Linked DNA regions of Homo sapiens: regions 2 and 3 are each linked to region 1. Evidence: promoter capture Hi-C in human tissues and cell types (Jung and others, 2019). All regions are on one chromosome and are shown on one strand. Each heading gives the region's core, a stretch centred on a gene start or on the middle of the fragment in contact. The rest is flanking DNA. Distances are from core to core; before and after follow the strand shown.

What was found. Contacts are between HindIII fragments. The study calls those that stand out against the background at their distance.
Region 2: a fragment that was not itself captured here is called in contact with the fragment with the promoter of NDUFB7 in region 1 in 5 of the 25 tissues and cell types used here (H1 embryonic stem cells, adrenal gland, mesendoderm cells and 2 more).
Region 3: the fragment with the promoter of ASF1B here is called in contact with the fragment with the promoter of NDUFB7 in region 1 in 1 of the 25 tissues and cell types used here (spleen).

Annotation. Positions count from the first base shown.
Region 1 is chr19:14,569,923-14,573,908 of GRCh38, reverse strand. NDUFB7 (NADH:ubiquinone oxidoreductase subunit B7) reads left to right here and starts at 1,843. Exons shown (of 3, transcript NM_004146.6): 1 at 1,843-2,020. The coding sequence starts at 1,909. RefSeq lists an enhancer at 1,622-1,911. The HindIII fragment of the contact is 12,939 bases long and covers 1-3,986 here.
Region 2 is chr19:14,923,954-14,928,403 of GRCh38, reverse strand. It overlaps the pseudogene OR7A15P. Among named protein-coding and RNA genes, the nearest start is that of OR7C2, 15 kb to the left of the region's middle. The HindIII fragment of the contact is 7,045 bases long and covers 1-4,450 here.
Region 3 is chr19:14,134,645-14,138,807 of GRCh38, reverse strand. It overlaps ASF1B (anti-silencing function 1B histone chaperone), which reads left to right and starts at 2,219. Exons shown (of 4, transcript NM_018154.3): 1 at 2,219-2,460. The coding sequence starts at 2,352. ADGRL1-AS1 (ADGRL1 antisense RNA 1) reads right to left here and starts at 1,656. Exons shown (of 3, transcript NR_045214.1): 1 at 1,585-1,656. RefSeq lists enhancers at 1,574-1,733, 1,230-1,856, 1,934-2,073 and a silencer at 2,404-2,453. The HindIII fragment of the contact is 6,304 bases long and covers 1-4,072 here.

The DNA.
Region 1 (3,986 bases), core at 594-3,093:
AGCCTGGGCAACGGAGCAAGACTCCGTCTCAAAAAAAAAAAAAAAAAAATTAGCTGGCCGTGATGGCACCCACCTGTAATCCCAGCTACTTAGGAGGCTAAGGCAGGAGAATCGCTTGAAACCAGAAGGCGGAGGTTGCGGTGAGCCGAGATCACACCACTGCACTCCAGCCTGGGCAACAAGAGTGAAACTCTGTCTCAAAAAAAAAAAAAAAAAAGAAAGAAAAAGAAAAGTCTCTATTGCCAGTTGTCTATTCTCAATAGCTTGCTTTTTTCACTTAATATATCAGCAGCCACTTCCCCATGTCAACACATAAAGATCTAGTTGAGTAATTCTCCCAAAGCTGGTCACTAGACCAGCAACATCACATCACCTGGGAATTTTTATAGACAGGGTCTCACTCTGTTGCCTAGGCTGGAGTGCAGTGATGGGATCACGGCTCACTGCAGCCTGGAACTCCTGGGCTCAAGTTATCCTCCTGCCTCAGCCTCCCGAGTAGCTGGGACTACAAGCGTGCACCACCACACCCAGCTTTTTTTTTTTTTTTTTTTTTTGTAGAGATAGAGTCTCCCTATATTGCCCAGGCTGGTCTCAAACTCCTGAGTTCAGGCGATCCTCCCATCTCAGCTTCCCAAAGCTCTGAGATTACAGGTGTGAGCCACTGCCCTGGCCCATATTTTTTTTTTTCCATTAGACTGTTTTTCTGTTCCATTAGACTGTAAGCTTGAAAGACAGGAACCACGTCTGCCTTTCTGTCTGACCACTGGACCCAGCATACCATACAGTAGATGCCTAATACATGCTTTGTCAGACTGGGGAAAAATATATATTAGATATTAATATTAGATATTAATATATTTTAAAATTGTATAAAGATTGCATATATATATATAATTTATTTGAAATTTCAGCTTTAAATAATTGTTTTTGACCAGGCACAGTGGCTTACGCCCATAATCCCAACACTTTGAGAGGCTGAGGCGGGAGGATCCCTGGAGCCCAAGAGTTCAAGGTTGCAGTGAGCTATGATTGTGCCACTGTGCTCCAGCCTGGGCGACAGAATGAGACCCTATCTCAAAAAATAATAATATAATAATAACTGTATTTATGAATAACTTTTATTTAAATTAAATTTATCAAAATCTTTCTTGGACAGGCACTGTGGCTCATGCCCGTAATCCCAGCAATTTGGGAGGCTGAGGCGGGGGAATCACTTGAGGTCAGGGGTTCGAGACCAGCCTGGCCAACTGGCGAAACCCCGTCTCTACTAAAAATACAAAAATTAGCTGGGGGTGGTGGCGGGCGCCTGTAATCCCAGCTACTCAGGAGGCTGAGGCAAGAGAATTTGAGCCCAGGAGGTGGAGGCTGCAGTGAGCCGAGATCGCGCCAATACACTCCAGTCTGGGCGACAGGTACTGTGTCTCCAAAAACAAAAAATTCTTAAAGTGACTTTATGCAAAATTACATACATTAACGATATAATAGATATCGTGCCTTTTTTAAGAGAAATTTGAATGTTTTCAAAGAAAAAACTTTTTGGAAAATGATATGAAAAATAATTTTAATATGTGCTTTAGCCTCGGGCTACCAGAAGAGCCCCAGATAGGGTCGAGGGAGGCCTCAGTCCCACACCGTCCCCTTCTGCCCCGCCCAGATGGATTTCCAGGCTCAGGGAAGTCCCCTCTCGGGTCCAACCATATCCTGCGAAGAGACACAGCACCTGTCCCGCCTCCGCCTGTCCGCGAGGTGACGCCAGGCGGACCGGAGCGATCCTCTGGAGTCCTTCATCTCTATGATCTCCGCAGCTGCCTAAATGACCCGGAAGCTGTGTCTGACTGAGGGGTCAGTGGTTCCGGGTAGGAGCTAGGTGACCCTCGGCTGCTGCAGGGATCTGCAGCGACTGCAGCCATGGGGGCCCACCTGGTCCGGCGCTACCTGGGCGATGCCTCGGTGGAGCCCGACCCCCTGCAGATGCCAACCTTCCCGCCAGACTACGGCTTCCCCGAACGCAAGGAGCGCGGTGAGGCCCAGTGCGCAGGCGCAGCCAGAGGGCGTGGGGCGCGGGTGCCTGAACACCTGGCACCCCAGGGCTGGCACCCCAGGGCTGGGCTCTAACCTCAGGTGTTGTATCTGGGTTTGGGTCTAGACTAGGAGTCCACAGGACGTGCATGACCCCACCTCAGTGTGGAGGCGTTCCAGCCCAAGGGCACGGCTTGAGCAAAAGCCAGGGAGCAAAAGTGAGGCGACAAGTGGGGGTTCGGGCAGGAATGCGACGCGCAGAGCTGGGTCGAGTCTTTTTTTTTTTTCTTTTGAGACGGAGTCTCGCTTTTTCTTTCAGGCTGGAGTGCAGTGGCTTGGTCTCGATTCACTGGCAGCCTCCACCTCCCGGGTTCAAGCGATTCTCCTGCCTCAGCCTCGCGAGTAGCTGTGATTACAGATGTGTACCACCATGCCCAGCTACTTTTTTGTATTGTTAGTAGAGACGGGGTTTCTCCTTGTTGGCCAGGCTGCTCTTGAACTCCTGACCTCAAGTGATCCGCCCGCCTCGGCCTCCCCAAGTGCTGGGATCGCAGAAGTCAGTCACCACGCCCGGCCTCGGGCCAAGTCTTGGGGGACGTGGGGAGTCATGGGAGGGCAGGGACACGTTCATTGTACCCCCTTCCTGATGTCACTGCAATTGTGGGGTATGCACAAGGAAATAAGGAAGATTCGAGCTGCAAATACTGTCCTGCAAAGTGCTTTGTTTTGCTTTGAGACGGGATCTTGCTCTGTTGCCCAGGCTGAGTGTAGTGGCACAATCACAGCTCATTGCATCCTCGACCTCCTGGGCTCAAATGATCCTCCCGCCTCAGCCTCCCGAGTAGCTGGGACTACAGGAGCGCCCCAGGATGCCAGACTGATTTTTTATTTTTTGTAGAGTTGGGGGTCTTGCTGTGTTGCCCAGGCTGGTCTCAAACTCCTGGGCTCAAACGATCCTTCTGCCCAGCCTCCCAAAGTGCTGGGATTGAAGATGTGAGCCACTACGCCCAGGATGGTTTTTTGGTTCGTGTGTTTGTTTTTGCTTTTAATGTAGTAATATCACAGGCATACCGAGCACCAGCTCTGGGCCACGTCCCACATTAGGCACCGCGGATACAGCAGGGAACTGGAGGGATGCAGGCACTGTCTCCAGAGAACTCAGCACAGTGGGAAAGATTGTGGAATCAGGCAGAGCTGGGGGTGTCAAAGCAGGCTTCCAAGAGGCAGTGGCTGGAAACAAAGACGTGAAGGGTGGCCGGTCGTGGTGGCTCATGCCTGTAATCCCAGCACTTTGGGAGGCTAAGGCGGGCAGATCACCTGGGGTCAGGAGTTTGAGACCAGCCTGGCCAACATGGTGAAACACCATCTCTACTAAAAATATAAAAATTGAGGCCGGGCATGGTGTCTCACACCCATAATCCCAGCACTTTGGGAGGCCGAGGCGGGCAGATCACGAGGTCAGGGGATTGAGACCATCCTGGCCAATGTGGTGAAACCCTGTCTCTACTAAAAATACAAAAATTAGCCAGGGGCGTGGTGGTGCACACCTGTAGTCCCAGCTACTCAGGAGGCTGAGGCAGGAGAATCGCTTGAACCCAGGAGGCAGAGGTTATAGTGAGCCGAGATCACACCACTGCACTCCAGCCTGGGCGACAGAGCAAGACTCCATCTCAAAAACAAAATACAAAAATTAAGCCGGGCACGGTGGCTTATGCCTGTAATCCCAGCACTTTGGGAGGCCAAGGCCGGTGGATCACCTGAGGTCAGGAGTTTGAGACCAGCCTGGCCAACATGGTGAAACCCCGTCTCTACTCTACTAAAAATACAAAAATTAGCCAGGTGTGGTGGCGCATGCCTGTAATCCCAGCTGTCTGGGAGGCTGAGGCAGGAGAATTGGCTGGAACCCAGGAGGCAGAGGTTGCAGTGAACCAAGGTCAGGCCACCACACTCCAGCCTGGGTGACAGAG
Region 2 (4,450 bases), core at 1,372-3,871, 350 kb before region 1:
CGGTTGGATCACGAGGTCAGGAGATCAAGACCATCCTGGCTAACATAGTGAAACCCCGTCTCTACTGAAAATACAAGAAATTAGCCGGGTGCGGTGGTGGGTGCCTGTAGTCCCAGCTACTCGGGAGGCTGAGGCAGCAGAATAGCATGAACCCAGGAGGTGGAGCTTGCAGTGAGCGGAGATGGCGCCACTGCACTCTGGCCTGGGCAGCAGAGCAAAACTCTGTCTCAAAAAAAAAAAAAAAAAAAAAAAAGAGCAGTTTCCACTTCCATGATCTGATTAAACAACAGCAATATCTGGCTCTGAGGCTTTGAGCCTTGCAATCATGGATATAGCTTCAGCCCTAGGACAACTGGCCCTTTTCTAGTTTCCCTCCCAAAGAATTCTTCAGAGCCCTCTTTATGTCCTTATTCCTCAGGCTGTAGATGAAGGGGTTCAGCATGGGGGTGACCACAGTGTACCTCACTGAGGCTATTGCACCTGAGTGTGAGTTGTGGGATGCAGCCGAGCTAAGGTACACTCCTAGGCTTGTACAGTAAAACAAGGAGACAACTGAGAGGTGAGACGGACAGGTGGAAAATGCCTTATACTTCCCTTGAGCTGATGAGATTGCACATATGGAGGAAACTATCTTAGAGTAAGAGTAAAGGATCCCAGCGAGACATCCCCCCACCCAGCAGCACAGCTGCCAGATACATCACCATGTCATTAAGAAAGGTGTCAGAACAGGCAAGGTGGATGACCTGATTAAGTTCACAGAAAAAGTGGGGGATTTCCAACTCTCTGCATAAGGACAACTGCAGCACCATTAAGCTATGTAATAAGGAATGCAAGACACTTGTGATCCAGGATACCAGAACCAGCAATCCACAGAGTTGAGGGTTCATGATGACCGTGTAGTACAGGGGGTGACAGATGGCCACAAACCGGTCATAGGCCATCACAGTCAGGAGGAAGCTGTCCAATCCTACAAAATGTATGAAAAAGTACATCTGGGTGATGCAGCCTGCAGAGGTGATGACTTTGCTCTGTGCCTGGATATTCACCAGCATCTTTGGGACCCTGGTGGAGGCAAAACAGATGTCTACAAAGGACAGGTTGGAGAGAAAGAAGTACATGGAGGTGTGGAGGTGGGAGCATAAAATGATAACCAGGATGATAAGCAAGTTTCCAAATACAATGATGAGGTACATGGATAAGAACACTCCAAAGAGAAATCGTTATGCTCTGGTTTCTCTTCAAATTGTATAAATCTTTTGCCTTTTACCAAAGAGAAATCGTTGCAGTCTGGGTTCTTCTGAAAATCCCAGAAGTCGAAATTCTGAAATTCGTGTATCATTCTCTGGTTCCATGTGGTAGAGGTGACTATAAAAAAAAAAAAAAGAGAGAGAGAGAAAATACATGACATAAGCATGCTTTTTTCACCCATCAGAAAAGCTATTATTTATATCCTACAGTCAGCAAGTTAATTTCTATATTTTGTGTGTGAATCTGGTCTACTTTATGAGATCTCCCATCCCATCTCTGCTTAGGAATTCCTTTCCCATGATGCTCAACTTTTCCCCAAATGGTCATTTATTTAAAAACTTTGCCGGGTGCGGTGGCTCACACCTGTAATCCCAGCACTTTGGGAGGCAGAGGTGGGCGGGTCACCTGAGGTCGGGAGTTCAAGACCAGCCTGACCAACATGGAGAAAACCCATCTCTACTAAAAATACAAAGTTAGCCGGATGTGGTGGTGCGTGCCCGTAATCCCAGCTACTCGGGAGGTTGAGGCAGGAGAATCATTTGAACCTGAGAGGCAGAGGTTGCAGGGAGCCAAGATGGCGCCATTGCACTCCATCCAGCCTGGGCTACAAGAGCAAAACTCCATCTCAAACAAAACAAAACAAAACAAAACAAAAACCAATACTTTAATGATAAATTCTTTCATGGATTTGAGGAATTTAAATTGAGTGTTGTCAACGTTCCAGGCTCTGTCTAGACAATGAGTGAACAGTGCTGAAAAACAAAAGTTCCTACAGTGAAGTATGGAGAAGAATACAAGTAAATCATATACTGTGTCAGATGGTAACCAGGGCTAGCAAGAAAAAGAAAGAAGGTAAAAAGGCGAGGGTGGATAGAGGATGTTAATTTTCCTAGGTGTCCAGAGAATACTAGCAGTCAAGGTGATAGGTGCCCATCAATAGTGGATTGGACAAAGAAACTGTGGTACTTATACACCATGGAATACTAGGCAGCCATAAAAAAGAATGAAATCATGTCCTTTCCAGCTACATGGATGAAGCTAGAGGCCGTTATTCTGAGCGACCTAATGCAAGAACAGAAAACCAAATATCGCATGTTCTCACTTATAAATGGTAGCTAAACATCGAATATACGTGAACACAAAGATGGGAACAATTGACACTGGAGACCGCTGGACAGAGGATGGAGGGAGGGGGATGTGAGCTGAAGAACCATCTGTTGGGTCCTATGCTTACCTCCTGAGTGATGGGATTGTTAGGACCCGAAGCCTCAGCATCACACAATTTACCCGTGTAACAAACCTGCACATGTACCCTTTAATCTGTAAGAAAAGCTGAAATTTTTAAAAAGAGAAATGAGACCTCAAGGAAGACAGGGCGGGAGCCATGAGGATATCTGGGAATGTGTGTGCCCAGCAGAAAGAATGGCCGGTGCAAAGGTGTAGAGGAAGGTTTCAGATGTTCAAGGCCAACGAGGAAGCCAGTGTGGCAGGGAAATCTGTGAGAGGTAAGTGATGGGAGATGGTGTCAGAAGATGTTGCACTATGAGGTGACTTCATTGCTGCTGAAGCTTCAAAATACAAGAAGTCCCTCTGCCCAGATTTTGTTTGGTTTGGTTTGGTTTTGAGACAGAGTCTCACTCTGTCGGCCAGGCTGGAGTGCAGTGGCATGATGTGGGTTCACTGCAACCTCCACCTCCTGGGTTCAAGAGATTCTCCTGCCTCAGCCTCCCAAGTAGCTGAGACTACAGGTGCCTGCTACCATGCCCTGCTAAGATTTATATTTTTTGGTAGAGATGGGGCTTCACCATGTTGGCCAGGCTGGTCTCAAACTCCTGACCTCAAGTGATCCTTTTGTCTCGGCCTCCCAAAGTGCTGGGATTACAGGCGTGAGCCACCACGCCCAGGCTTGTCCTGATGTTTTCTATTTGCACTTTAATAAATTGGCTCCATGTCCCATGAATTGAAATGCATCCTTTGTTTATTTCCATATGCTGCCTTGCGTGCTGACCTCTGTATTCTGAGTCACCTTTTGGAATATATTGAGTCCAGGTCCCTTTACTTTTTTTTTTTTTTTTTTTTTTTTTGAGACGGAGTCTCGCTCTGTTGCCCAGGCTGGAGTTCAGTGGCGCGATCTCGGCTCACTGCAACTTCCGCCTCCCAGGTTCACACCATTCTCCTGACTCAGCCTCCCAAGTAGCTGGGACTACAGGCGCCCGCCACCACGCCCGGCTAATTTTTTTGCATTTTTAGTAGAGGCAGGGTTTCACCATGTTAGCCGGGATGGTCTCGATCTCCTGACCTCGTGATCTGCCTGCCTCGGCCTCCCAAAGTACTGGGACTACAGGCGTGAGCCACTGCGTCCCTCTACTCTTAAAAGGGATATCTCTACCTCATTTGTATGTCATATTCTTTTATGCCTAGGTCTTTGCAACTTTAATTATTTATCCATGTTGAAAACATTAAATTATTGCTACTTCATATCTTGTTTCAGTTAATTAGCAAGGCTCCTTTCAATTCTGTTTAATGATGTTATTTTGAAATCACTCTCCCCACTAAAGACAGACACACATATGCACAATTAGTACAGACACACACACAGGCACACACTTGAAGCTGAATGAGGACTCCTGGGACTGTGTTTATAGCAAGCTGTTCTCACCTCCAGTCACACCATTAATATTAGAGAGGAATGGAAATGAAGCAAGCTTTCAATATCAGATTATCTTTCCATTTTTTTGTATGGTCATGTTCTGTCTTCTGTTTAAAAAAACATAAAAAATTATAAAAATACAACAATTTTGCTTGATAAACATACAGAGGATAATTAAATAAAACCCAAGGGGGGAAAATCTAATAACCTCAGATAATTCCTGGGAGACTAGGAAGAAGAAATAGCTTGCTTGAATGAATTAATGGCATTCGCAGTGACCTGGATGAGATTGGAGACAATTATTCTTTTTTTTTTTTTTGAGACAAAGTCTCCCTCTTTTCCCCCAGGCTGGAGTGCAATGGCATGATCTCAGCTCACTGCAACCTCCACCTCCCACGTTCAAGTGATTCTCATGTCTTAGCCTCCTGAGTAGCTGGGATTACAGGCACCTGCCACCACGCCCGGCTAATTTTTATAGTTTTAGTAGAGATGGGGTTTCACCCTGTTGACCAGGCTGGTCTCGAACTCCTGACCGAAGGTGATCTGCCCGCC
Region 3 (4,163 bases), core at 970-3,469, 440 kb after region 1:
GGCTCAGTGCTGTTCAGGCGTACGGCCTGTGAGTTTGAACACTGTCCAGAGCACCCTTAGAAAGGCCTCTCTGGGGAGAGGACATTTGAACAGAGACTTGAATGACAAGAAGGCATAAGCCATGCCAAGAGCCTAGGAGAAGAGGTTCTGGGCAGAGGCTTTGCACTGGGAGTGGCTTGTCAGAATTTTAACAAAAAGAGGGTTACTTAGCCTGGTTTGAAGTTGGAGCTGGGTGGTTAACAGGAGACAAAGCATAGAGTTTCAAAGACAATGCTCTCATCCGGAGAAGTGACCTGGTCAAATGTGTTTCTGACCTTCGCTGTCCAGTAATACAGGAGCCACTTGTCACACGGGCTCAGGAGCACTCAACTGCGGCTATCAAGACAGCTAAACTGAACTTTCTTTTTTAAAATTTAATTTTAATTTTTAGAGACAGGGTCTCACTCTGACACTCAGGCTGGAGTGCAGTGGCTGGAGCATTCTGGGCTCAAGAGATCCTCCTGCCTCAGCTTCAGGAGTAGCAGACACTACAGGTATGCACTACCACACCTGGCTTATTCTTTTATTTTTTGTAGATATGAGGTCTTGTTATGTTGCCCAGGCTGATCTTGAACTCCTGGCCTCAAGAAATCCTCCATGACCAGCCTCTAAAATTACAAATAATAATAAAAAAAGATATGGCCGGGCACAGTGGCTCACGCCTGTAATCCCAGCACTCTGGAAGGCCGAGGCGGGCGGATCACTTGAGGTCAGGAGTTCGAGACCAGCCTGGCCAACATGGTGAAACCCCGTCTCTACTGAAAATACAGAAAAAAAATTAGCTGGTTGTGGTGGTGGGCACCTGTAATCCCAGCTACTCAGGAGGCTGAGGCAGGAGAATCGCTTGAACCCGGGAGGTAGAGGTTGCAGTGAGCCGAGATCGCGCCATTGCACTCCAGCCTGAGTGACAGCGCGAGATTCCATCTCAAAAAAAAAAAAGTGGCTTCCAAAAAATGTTAATTTTACACCTAATTTTGGTGCGCGGCTGGCATTATTTTTCCACTGGGCAGCACTGATCGCCCGTGGGGGCAGAGACTCTGAGACCTGGAGTCTCCCAGGCCGGGGGCGACGGCCCAGACGGGAGGCGGTGGAGAGAAGTTTCCGGATGTATTATGTGGTCATGAATCATGTCAGGGAATTGCCACGGCCCCCGTTGAATGGGGAGGCGCTGCCTCGGGCGCTGAGTAGCAGAGCCCGGACTCTGAACACTGGTCTGCCCCCGAACTGGAACTCCCATTTTCAGTACCGTCCGCTTGAAACCTCCCAAGAGCCCTCAAGGGGGCGAGAGAGGGATCCAAACCCCTCGGGGGCGAGAGCGGGATCCGAACCCCTCGGGGGCGAGAGCGGGATCCGAACCCCTCGGGGGCGAGAGCGGGATCCGAACCCCTCGGGGGCGAAAGCGGGATCCGAACCCGGCCGGATTCCCGAGGTCTGAGCGCGCCTCGTGACCGCCACTCCGAACGTTCGCAACGTTCACAACGGACTCCCGCGCCGCTGGACCTCAAGGGTCAGGAGCCACTCAGAAAAGCTCCAGGAAACGCTCACCTGTTGACAGACGCTGAGGCCGCAAACGCTCCTCCTCTCTCTTCACACTCGCCAACACCGCGGTGGCGCTCGACTTCCGCTTCTCTCCAGCGAATCCCCAGCTGAGCCTCCTTCTGCTCCCGCCACCATTACCAATCCAGCCAATAAACTCTCAGAAAACCCTCTTTATCTCCGCCCCACTCCCTCCTGCCAATCACTTCGGGTGCGAGCACCGCCCTTCCCGCCTTCTTTAGCGAGCGCCGCGCGCCACCGCTCGGCGGGTGGCGGCGCTGCGCGCTGCGGGATGCATCTCCCGGAAAAGCGAGGCGAGGGGCGGGCCACGCCGGTGCGGGAACCCTCAGGATTGGCCAGAAGGAGGCCGGCGCTGTGACTCCGTCCATTCCCGCCGTTGACATCCAAGTCGGAGACGCTGGGGATTGGTTTCCAGCGGACACGCTAAGAAGCTTGGAGATAGTTTCGCCCTCCTCACACGCTGCGGAGAGGGAGCTCCGCTGATTGGTCCGAGGAGTCTGGGCGCGCGCCGATCGGCGCTCCAGGACTGGCTGAGGGGGTGCGCGCGCCGCCAGGGAGCGTTGGCGGTGATTGGCCAGAGGGCGGAGGCCGGCTATTTGAAGGCGGCGCGCGGACTAGGTGCGCACTTCAGTTCTCGGAGAGAAGAGGCGGGAGTGGACCTGGTCAGCCCTACCCCACTGACCCCACCGGACCCAGGCGCGGCCTCCGCCACAGCCACAGCCCCTGCCCCTGCTGCGGCGCGGCGAGGCGAGGCGATGGCCAAGGTGTCGGTGCTGAACGTGGCGGTCCTGGAGAACCCGAGCCCTTTCCACAGCCCCTTCCGGTTCGAGATCAGCTTCGAGTGCAGTGAAGCCCTGGCGGACGGTGAGGCTGGGCCTGTGCGGGGACCCCCACCCCCGGGCCGACCCCGGCCTCCCCTCAGAGAACCGCTCCCATGGCCAACTTGATCTCCCCCATGAAACCCCTCGTCCCCCTTCCGCCAACCCCGATCTCCCCCAGCCCGCCAGTCAACCGGATCTCCCGGTGGAGACCCCCCGCCACCAGCCAACACGGACCTCCCCGTGACCTCCTCCCCCACTGCCCGCCTTGACCTCCCGGGTGGAGACCCCCCGCCAGCTAACTCGGACCTCCCAGTGGCCTCTTCCCCCACTGCCCGCCCCGACCTCCCCATAGAGATTAACCCCCTCCAAGCCCCATTTCCCGCGTGGGGAACCTCATCCATCTTTTTTCTCTGGAGCTCTTCCTAGGTACCCGTTTTCATGGGGAGACCTTCTCGGCCTCCATTTCTTAACCCACGGAGATCTTCAGCCACCGTGGTTTCCCTGTGGCAAGACCCCCGCTTCAACCACCCACCCATTTTTGCCCACTTATTCCCTCTTTCCTGTAGTGAGATACTCACACCTCCCATTTTCCCTCTGGAGACCCCCAATATCCAGCCCCTTCCCATTTTCCCCGGGGGAAATCCCAGCCATCTCCTATTTTCCCTATGGAGACCTCTCACCCAAGCTCCTCTCTCCTTGCCGTGAAGACCCTCCCCTCCAGTAACCTTTTTTTCCTGTGAAAACCCCTCAACCCCTTTTCAGGACCTCTCTCAACCCCATCTTCCCATTTGTGTCCCACCAGTCCCCTCCCCAACCTGCCAATATTTCAATAACCCCACGCCCACCAGTTGCTGCCGCTTTTCTGCCCCAATGCACATACCCTGGAACCTGGTTTCTCTCCTTCGTTGGGGCCCAACCCCCCTATGCTTGAGCTCTCCCTGGGAAAGGATGCTACCGTCTTTGAGGGGAACTTTGTCTCCCCAGCTCCCCTTCCCCACCTTTCTCTGTGGGCTTGGATAAACACACTGAGATCCGAGGGGTGGCATAGCCAGGCAGGCATTAGCTAGTTCTCCAGGTTTGCCCACCCGTTTCCAGCTGAGTTACTGCAGCAATTTTTCTGTCACTTTTTCTTTCTTCTTCTTCCTCTTCTTTTTTTTTTTTTTTTTTTTGAGACAGTCTCACTCTGTTGCCCAGGCTGGAGTGCAATGGCACGATCTCGGCTCACTGCAACCTCCACCTCCCGAGTTCAAGCGATTCTTCTGCCTCAGCCTCCCGAGTAGCTGGGACTACAGGCGCCTGTCACCACGCCCAGCTAATTTTAGTATTTTTAGTGGAGGCAGCGTTTCACCATGTTAGCCAGGTTGGTCTCGAACTCCTGACCTCAAGTGATCCACCCGCCTTGGCCTCCCAAAGTGCTGGGATTACAGGCGTGAGCCACCGTGCCCCGTCTTCTTCTTTTTTTTTTTTAATATAGCTGGATAATCAGTGCCAAGCTCCCGTTGCTTTTGATGGTCTGACCTAGTCTGGGGGGTGGGTGGATTGGGCTGAGCTGTGACGGGCTCCAGCTTCAAACAGTCGGCTGGAGCTTGGAGGTCACAGCCTCCTGTACATCTTTTCCAAGGTGCTTCCGTAGATGTACTTATTAATCTGTGTGACTTAAAGGTGGGCATGGCTCTCATCTCACAGATGAGAAGACAGGAGCCACAAAACGCAAAAGACCTTTCAAGTCAAGGCCTGTACAAATCC